Regions from separate parts of the Homo sapiens genome. Here all the other regions are linked to region 3. The links are contacts of gene promoters, found by promoter capture Hi-C in human tissues and cell types (Jung and others, 2019). All regions are on one chromosome and are shown on one strand. Each heading gives the region's core, a stretch centred on a gene start or on the middle of the fragment in contact. The rest is flanking DNA. Distances are from core to core; before and after follow the strand shown.

Evidence for each region. The method cuts DNA at HindIII sites, captures the fragments that hold promoters and counts their contacts. A contact is called where the count stands out against the background at its distance.
Region 1: a contact is called between a fragment that was not itself captured here and the fragment with the promoter of TMEM168 in region 3, in 1 of the 25 tissues and cell types used here (spleen).
Region 2: a contact is called between a fragment that was not itself captured here and the fragment with the promoter of TMEM168 in region 3, in 1 of the 25 tissues and cell types used here (mesendoderm cells).

Annotation. Positions count from the first base shown.
Region 1 is chr7:112,581,184-112,584,240 of GRCh38, forward strand. No RefSeq gene overlaps it. Among named protein-coding and RNA genes, the nearest start is that of LINC03076, 35 kb to the right of the region's middle. The HindIII fragment of the contact is 6,242 bases long and covers 1-3,057 here.
Region 2 is chr7:112,555,403-112,558,674 of GRCh38, forward strand. No RefSeq gene overlaps it. Among named protein-coding and RNA genes, the nearest start is that of LINC03076, 61 kb to the right of the region's middle. The HindIII fragment of the contact is 4,517 bases long and covers 1-3,272 here.
Region 3 is chr7:112,788,795-112,791,935 of GRCh38, forward strand. TMEM168 (transmembrane protein 168) reads right to left here and starts at 1,599. Exons shown (of 5, transcript NM_022484.6): 1 at 1,366-1,599. RefSeq lists an enhancer at 1,858-1,987. The HindIII fragment of the contact is 15,678 bases long and covers 1-3,141 here.

The DNA.
Region 1 (3,057 bases), core at 273-2,772, 210 kb before region 3:
GCTCCTTGGTTTTGGTGTTATATAAGTGTAAATGGCTCCCCAAAAGGTCAGGCAGTTTATCTTCCCAAGAGTGATTGATGTTAGCAGTTTTGGTTGCTTATCTCTTCAGAACTCAGCTACCAGGAATAGAAAGAAAACCTTGAGACATCTTTTTCTTCATTAAGCAGTGGGGGAAGTGGTTTAAAGCCCTAAGTTATGAATTAACCACTTAGTTCTGTAATAAAATATAAGGAACTCTTTCTTCCTGCCTTATCAGAATATTTCGTATGAGGAGACAAAAGTATCTAAAATAAACAATATAGGTAGTGAAGGTCACTGAAAATAACACTTGCCTCCTCCCCACAGTTTAGTCTCTATAAAAATAGAGACTATTTGTATCTCTATTTTTATAAGAGTAATGCAAAGCTTTGAACATCCATGAATATTTGACTATAATTTAGTCAGTCTTTTCCTTCACTGGGGTAAAATAAGCTGTCACCTGGAGATAATATTTGAGTGCTGGACAAATGACTTCCCTCACTTCATCCAGAACTCTAGATGATCTTTAGACTGGCACTGGTAATAGGAGTCATGAGTGAAGTTAGCCAGAATGCCCAGCTCCCACACACTCTAAATTTAGAGTTTTTTTTTTTCTCTTTACCTACTTAACATTCAAAGACCACCAAGTATTTTTAAAACCCTAAACTTGAGAGACTTTAGACAGCTGGAAATTTGAGGCATTGAAAGGGTGGAGGGCTTATTTAAAGTTAGGCCAGAATTAGACTCCGAAGAATCCAGGGTCTTATGTGGGTGAAGAAGTTGAAATTTATTTCCAATGACTGATGTCCCCACCTCACTTAGCTACATTATTCTGCTCCCCACATACCTGGCGTATACTCCTTTCTGGACTTCTCATTTCAGAAGAAGAGATTATGATTGATGAATCCATGGTTGAATCAAACTGGTGACAATTTAAGGTGTTCTTCTTTGGGTGGCGGAATGGGGGAGGGATTTGCGTATGTAAGTTTAGATACTCAGAGAATGCTTAGTTTAAGCCGGAAAAAAATGTCTTCATGATGGAATTTTGATCATGTGGCCTGTGGATGGTGGACATGTGTTTGGGGCAAGGAGCGTCACCCTGGTTTCCTCAAGTCAGGACAAATCCAGGATAGTTTGCTTTATCATTGTGAAGACTGGTTCTGCTGCAGCTTCCACTGATTCTCTGAAGCCCAAGAGGCAATAGGACTGAAACATTCATTCCACCACTTGCAGGTCTATTTTATTTAAAATGAAAAGAGTATTTTTACTTGTGTACCCTCTATTAAATATTTGCATACATTTATTTGAGAAAAATAGCAAAAAAAAACCTTTCTTGCTTAAATTCTCCTGTCTGCCATGTTTCCTTCTTACTAATACATAAGTTGAAGGTAGCTGGTGAAATTAAAGCCACTAACTGTTGGCATGTTTATGAATGAGCTCTTACCTTAGTGCAGTGATTCTCAAACTTGGGTGTCCAGTGGGCAGCAGAACTACTGAAGCGCTTGGTAAAACACAAATGGATGGGCCCCACCCTGAGAGATTCTGATTTAGTAGGTCTGGAGTGGGGATTGAGAATTTGCATTTCCAGCCATTCCCAGATGGTTCTGAGGCTACTGGTCTGAGGAGCACATTTTGAGATTTACTGACTTAATTAAGCCTCACTCTCTTCTGACTCCCCCTGCTCTCACTGGGTCCCCCTCACTTGAGTCTCTGTTAGAGTAATGAAGAGTGGACACAGCAGTAGCCCAGTTCTTTTCACTGAACCAAAGGAACTTAAGCTTTAAAATTTAACCACCAAGTTATTCTCTATTTTACTTTTGTCAAGAACATCTGGCCAGGCATCAGGCTCATGCCTGTAATCCCAACACTTTGGGAGGCCAAGGTGGGCAGATCACTTGAGGTCAGGAGTTCGAGACCAGCCTGATCAACATGGTAAAAGCCCATCTCTACTAAAAATACAAAAATTAGCCGGCTTGGTGGTGGGAGCCTGTAATCCCAGCTACTCTGGAGGCTGAGGCAGGAGAATCACTTGAACTTTGGAGGCAGAGGTTGCAGTGAGCAGAGATTGTGCCCTGCACTCCAGCCTGGGTGACATTGTGGGACTCTGTCTCAAAAACAAAAACAAAACGCAAAAAACACATCTATGTTACACAGGACTTACTACTTAAGAGTTAAGAATAATATATACCTAGACAGCTACCCCAACTTGTAATAATAACAATTTGAGAGACCCCACTCATTTCAATCACATGCATACTCTGTCTCCTCATGAACTAACTTTCTCTGATGTGCTGGAAACTTGTGTTATCTCATTTGGTTTAAAAATCAGATAACAAATTGAGATTAAGCTGCTTCTTAATATTCTTCAGTGGGTTGATAAAAAACTGCCTACTGTTCTGATTCCCTTTAGCTGCAATGTGATATGATTGGTATCTTCAGGAACTATTTCAAATGATACCTGTTTGTGAAACATTTTCTATTTCTCTTTAGCCTCCCTGTGCATGGCCCACACCATGCTTATTTCCCATGCCGTTGTTTATCAGGGAATTATGATATGTTTTAGCACAGGACGTTTACTCTCTGTAGATTGTGAGCTCTTTAGGAAGGACCAACTGCAATTTTTTGTAACTTCAGTGCCATTTATAATCCCAAGTATGTAATAGATGCTTTATAAATATTGCTAAGTTGATGAGGTTTTAAAAGTTAATGTGAAACAAACAAACATTGATGAACAGATGCCAGAAGAGAAGCTCATTCCATCAACAATGATGTACCAATTATCTTTTGGAATAAGCGAGAAACCTAATTACATAGTAAATGATAACGGACACAATTTATTAATCTCATGGCTGTCTTGAAGTGTGAGAAACATTTGATGAATGAAATGTTTTTGACTATTAAAAAGGTGACATTATAAAACAAATATATATATTTCTTATAAGAAATCTGGAAAATAAAGAAGAAAATTTAAAAATCACCCCTAGTTCTACCCCAAATCAAATAATAAGTGTAAATAGTTAAAATGAAAATTACTTTTTA
Region 2 (3,272 bases), core at 357-2,856, 230 kb before region 3:
CTATTCCTATATGTTAGTTACTGAAAAAACAATAGACAATCACAAAAACAAGTTGACCTTTTTTGTTCCTTGAGCCCAGTCGTGAAGGGCCCTCATGGCTGGGCCTCATGCCAAACAACTAGTTACAAAAAGAGTTAGGGTCCCAGACTGCACCGAAGCTTCATGAGACCTCTCCTTGTCTGTGCACGGACGGGAGGCCAACTCTGGAGCCCAGGCTGTTGCTTCCCAGTCTGGTGGTGAATCCTCCATAGTCTGATGAGTGTAAATATATATATAATACATATATTTAGTGTAAATATATATATATCTTTTTCCTTCTCCCCTTCCCATTGCAATTTGCTTATTATATCATTTGCTTATTATATCTGCATTGCCATTTACATGGGATAAAGGTTGTTTACCCCTAAACATATTGTTTTTGTGTCTTTTCTTCTCCCCTCGTGCATTTCCCACACAGAACAAATGTCCAGAACAGATAAATCTATAGAGACAAAGTAGGCTAGTGGTTGTTTAGGGCTAGTGGAAGACATAGGCTGTGAGATTTCTTTTTGACATGATGAAAACCTAAAATGGACTGGTGATGGTTCCACATATGTGTAAATAAACTAAAAATCAATGAATTGTACACTTTAAATGGGTGAATCATAGGTATGTGAATTATATCTCAATAAAGCTGTTAAATGAAAATTTAAAATAACTTTAGTGACTTACACAATAAAATCTAAACTAGTCCCACTCCACTCTGCCCTCTGTGCAGAGTCTCAGGCTCAAAAATCTCTCCGCACTGTACTCCACAAATTATGAAGTCCATCCTGACTCAATGTTTTGTCCACACGCTAACTGATAGAGTTTGAATATTTGTGTCCTCCAAATCTTATGTTGAAATTTGATCACCATTGTTAGAGGTGAGGACTGGTGGGAGGTGTTTGGATCATGAGGGTGGATCCCTTATGAATGGGTTGGTGCCATCATTGAGGTAATGAGTGAGCTCTTGCTCTGTTAGTTCCCATGAGATCTGATTGTTAAAAAGAACATAGCACTTTCCTTCCCTCTCTCAATCTCTGTCCCTCTCCTTCTCCTCCTCCTTTCTTGCCATGTGACAAATCTGCTCCCACTTTGTCTTCTGCCATGATTGGAAGCTTCCTGAGGCCTTACCAGGAGCAGATACTGGTGCCATGCTTCTTTTGCAGCCTGCAGAACTGTAAGCCAAATATACTTCTTTTCTTTGTAATAACCCAGCCTCAGGTACTCTTCTATAGCAACACAAATGAACTAAGACACTGTCCCTGATGCTCCAGACTGCTCCATGTGTGCAACTGACTCCTGCTCATGCTGCAGCTTCCTTTGGTCAGAATGTCTTTCCCAGTGGCCCTTTTCTTCTGAGGTCTGCCAAGCAAACACCTACTCATCTTCCAAGTCTAGTCACTAGTCACCTACATTTCAAAACTTTATGCAACCACATGAATGTGTCATGAAGGCTTTCTTGCCAGGCTGAATCAACCACTTCCTCTTTTGCACTCTTCTACACCTGTACAAGCTCTGTCACAGCATCTCTAGAGCTTGTTTGCTTACCTGTTTCTTTCTCCTTTATTAGGCAGCTTTTCAGTGGCGGGGATATTGCTGTATTATTATTATTATTATTATTATTATTATTATTATTATTATTATTATTTTTTGAGACAGGATCTCGCTCTGTCCCCCAGGCTGGAGTGCAGTGGTGCAATCTTGGCTCACTGCAAGCTCCACCTCCTGGGTTCATGCCATTCTCCTGCCTCAGCCTCCCAAGTAGCTGGGACTACAGGTGCCCGCCACCACGCCTGGCTATTTTTTTTTTTTTTGTATCTTTAGTAGATACGGGGTTTCACCGTGTTAGCCAGGATGGTCTCGATCTTCTGACCTCGTGATCTGCCTGCCTCAGCCTCCCAAAGTGCTGGGATTACAGGCATGAGCCACCCGCACCTGCCCACTGTATTATTTTTATTCTACATCTTCTACTTGCTTGATTCTGGAGCTGCACACACTTGCTAGCCCTTATCTTCCACATACCATACCCAAATCAGAGCTTATTGCAAGAGCACAGGTCAGACAGGCCTATCTTGGCCTCACACTTATACCCTGCCCCTGCTGCTCTGTGGTCCTGCGTGTTCTCATGGTTGCAGAGACTCTCTTTCCAGATTATTTCTCCAAATGCTGAGCCCAAATATTGACCTCTGACCCATGCCACCATGCTTTTGCCTGTGCTGTGCAGCCTGACTGGCCCCCGCTGTCCTTGTACCTCTGGAAGTTGACTGCAGCCTGTGTACTGGACTGTGAGCTTTGCCAGGTTTCTCCAGTTTAACTTGAGAGCTCAAACTCCAAATTCTGTTTTGCTTTAAGATGTATGAGACCCAGGTCCCCAGCCGGTGCTCTGCCTAAGCTGTCCCAATTCAGCTCCTGTTTCTGCCCACCTTGATCAGTCTTATCCCATATTAGCTATATCTCGTATGGTTTCCTCTGACCCTAACCCCACCCTCTCCTATCTGCATAGTTTTCTCTTTTACCCCTAAGACTATATTAGATACTCTGCATGCTGACAGCTTCCTATGCATATACCAAGTGCTTATTATAGCACTTAACAGTCTATCTTGTAATTATTGCTTATCTGTGTGTCTCCCTCTCCCATTGGCCTCTGGACTCATGCTTGTCAACTTTTTCCTACTTGGACATGTTATAGATAATTTTTATTTGCTGACACACCCCCATTGATTTACCCAGATGGTGAGCTGTAGCAAAGACAAGATAGTGTGTGGATTATTTGTAGTTTATGATTTGTAACTCTAGCCCTTTTATTCCTGCTAAATAATGTATATCACAATGACAGTAAATGACTACAAAGTTATAAGGATAATAATCTGTTTTTTATAACAAATTTTAAAAAGTAAACATTTCACCAACTTTAGTACTTTCTTATCAATAGCAAATTACTTGTGCTAGCCTTCCAAGATGGCTGTACCACATGACTATGTCATTAGGGCATTCTTGCCAGATCCTGAGTTCCTGAGAGCTGGAGTTATATCACATTTATCACTGTAAACCCAGCATCTCACACAGTTCCTGACAATAACAGGCACTCGGTATATGTTTGTTTAATTGGTGGCTGGTTGATGAATTATAAAATGAGATTAATTTTTAAAATTCACTGGGTTTGCTTAAACACCAGGAGACTGAGGCTATCTCCAGCTGTGTAAAGGCAGCTTCTAAATCCAGAGTCCTTTAGAATTCGGTATCCTTTT
Region 3 (3,141 bases), core at 349-2,848:
AACATTTTTTAAATGTTTCTACTTCTCGTCCCCAGGGTCACCATCCCAATTTTGGCCACCATCATGTTGAACATTTCCCTGTATCCACTCTTGCCCTCTCTAAGAAGTGTACTTTTTAAAACCAAAATTTAGCACTCCACTATGTAAAATGCTCCAATGGCGTCCCATCACCCTTAGCAATAAAGTCAAAACTCCTTACAGTGCCTTATAAGGCACTCCGTGTTGGGCCTGAATAACTCTCCTGCCTTATCTGTTACCAGTTTTCCTCTCACACTTTATTTTCCAACCTTACTGACCTTTCAATTACAAACTGCACAAATGCTATTCCCTTGCCAGGTACACTCCTTTTCCTCCTCCTGGCCCCACCCCAGTGCTCACACCTGGCTTATTCCAACTCTTCAGGTCTCAGATAAATCATTTTCTTAAGAGATTATCCCTGCCCCCTCCCCATTACATGACCCCCATACTTTCTCTGTTACATACCATCACTTATTTCATGTCTGCATTTCCCACTAGATCAAAAGGTCTCTGAGGGTTTGTCTTCAATACTGTACACCCAGTGACTAGCAAAAATCCGGCATCAAGAAGGTATTCAATAAATACTTGTTGAAAAATAAAGACTAATAAAGAAATAACTACATTTAACAACAATAGTCACCATTGGACACTTACTAATGCCTAAAGAGAATACAGAACTTAGCTATATCCCACAACTAATAACTAGTAGAACTAAGGGAGAGTCCATGAATGTTTGGTTTCTATTTCAGCTTTCCACCAGTCTTTACTTAATTCACCCAAATTCTTCCAAACCAATTCTCTCTCCATGTCCTACCTCTAGGGAATGGCTTGAGGCATACCGTATCACTTGCATTATCTTTCACTCAGAAACTCTGTCCCATCTAGAAGTGTCAAGGCTGAAAGAACTACACTGAAAAAACAGGGAATTTCAGTGCTTCAGTTCTGAATTACTGATAACTCTTTGAGCCATCTCATACGAGGAAAATGTCATCTAGAATATCAAACTCCTCAGCACTAGAGCAGCAACAGCAATTTCTCTCCCTTTCGGCCTCCTTCTAGCGAGATGTGGGAGGTCCGACAAGGAGCTTGGCTGTTCTCCACCATCCTCTGCCTCGGAGAACGCGACCACAACGTGGCGCCCAGTTGAGGGGGAACCCTTGCGAAATACGGAGAGGCGCTCCCACACCCTCCAATCTCCAACCACCACTGTCAACTCCTCCAGAGGCAGGTATCCTACCCCGGCCCTGGGAGGCCGACTGGGCGGAGCTTGGGGTCCGGACCACGCGGAGCCCTGGCAGTGTCTATGCCTAGATCTCGCCGCCCTGCCGTCCACCCATTTCTCCCTACCTGACTCGGCCGTCGCCACCAACGCGCTCTCCCAACCCTCGGAGTCAGTTCCAAAACCAAACCAAAAAGGAGGAGAGCAGACAAGGCTTCAGCCTGCGACTGAGAACAGGGAGGCGGCACGCCTTGGGGAACGAGGGCCCGAGGCCATACGCGCTAATACAGGCCAGTGTCGGCGTAAACTTTCTCCGTTACCGGCCCGGCCGCGACCGCCATGTTTCCGCCGCCGAAATCCGCGACGGTACGGAACGCCGCCGGGGTCAAACTGCGCGGCGCGCCTCCTTCCCGAGGCCCGGCCCCCTCCCCGCCCAAACCCGCGCGCCGCCACACACTCAGGTGAGCAAGGCGCTGCGCGAGTGTCAACTGCCCCACCTAAGGCGCCTGCCTTCCTCAAGCCAAAGTCGACTCCTGGGACCTGGAATCAGCAGCTGAGAACAGACAGCGGGAAGACCACCAAAGATCAGGCTGACAGTGCCCATCAAGCATCTAGGCCACCGCCTCGGGCTGGACCGAACGGGGACAGGGTGGACAGGACTGCCACGCGTGGGCTGTAAATACTGCGGGAGGCGTTGCTGCTCATTAATATATATGGCATAATATATGGCTTTGTAACCAGCTAAGGCCCAAGCTCCTTAGGCCCTCCCTCAGACCTTTCAGTTCCTCAAATGCAGGGACATGTCGGGTTTTGCTCAACATTAAATCACCTTAGCATAGTGCCTGACACATAGTTGGCACTTAAATATTTGTAAAATAATAATATGCAATAGGCTCTCCACGATCCGTAGTTCTCTCCTCCCACTTGTTTTGCATGTATTATCTATATATTTTTCCTATTTTCCATAATAGAGTGTGAATTTCCTAATTTTCATAATAGATGTTGGGGGTTGGTGTGGCCAGCACATCTATAGGAATGAACAACTCTCAGATTGAGATTCTGCATATGTGGATGAAAATTTTGAGTTAGATTCTCTCTAGACTCCTGATTTTAAAAGCAATCACAACTCAACTTCCCAAATCTGTAACTAGCTCTCTGGGGAACACGAGTGCCACATTTCCAACTACCTGCTAGATGTTTCTACTCAAATATATTGTCATCACTTCCAACTCAACTTGCCTTTAATGGACATTTATATACATTTATTATGCCCCCCATTTGAATCCCCTTCCGTATTTGGAGAATTCCCCACCTGAGTTAAGAGTCTAATGGCTGCCGCTGAAATGCTGAACACTTGTTTAACTAATCATGTGTACCCGCTGGAAGCCATGAGTCAAAAAAGGCACAGAAAGCTACACTCCCAGGTCACCTGTAGGAGTATAGCAAGTGTAGAGATCGAGAACCCATCCCTAACAGCAAGGTAAGCTTCCGAGGCAGTAGTGAGAGTGCTGGCATCCACCATTAACATGTCAGAGATGCAAGATGCCTGTGCTTGGTGAGGGTCACAACCCCAGAGCCCTTTCCCAATCTGTTCTGTAGCCTGTTAACAGTCTCTGTGTACATTTCTGGGTAGCCTGTGACAGACTCTGTACTACATAGCTGTGAGGCAGGACAATAGGGTCTGGAGGCAAGGAACTTACGGCTGATTCATGCTGACTTTCTAGAACTAAATCAAAAGGAAAGCCCCAACTTTCCACAGCTAAGTAACAAAGGGACCCGGCCCCCTCCCCCACCACCGCCCTTTTCTGCGTGGCAGACGGAAAATTGAAAGTACCTCGGATTGGTTGCTTTCCATAACTAATTAAATGTTTGCATAGGGTGTAACCTTTGTAACTTCGCTTCAG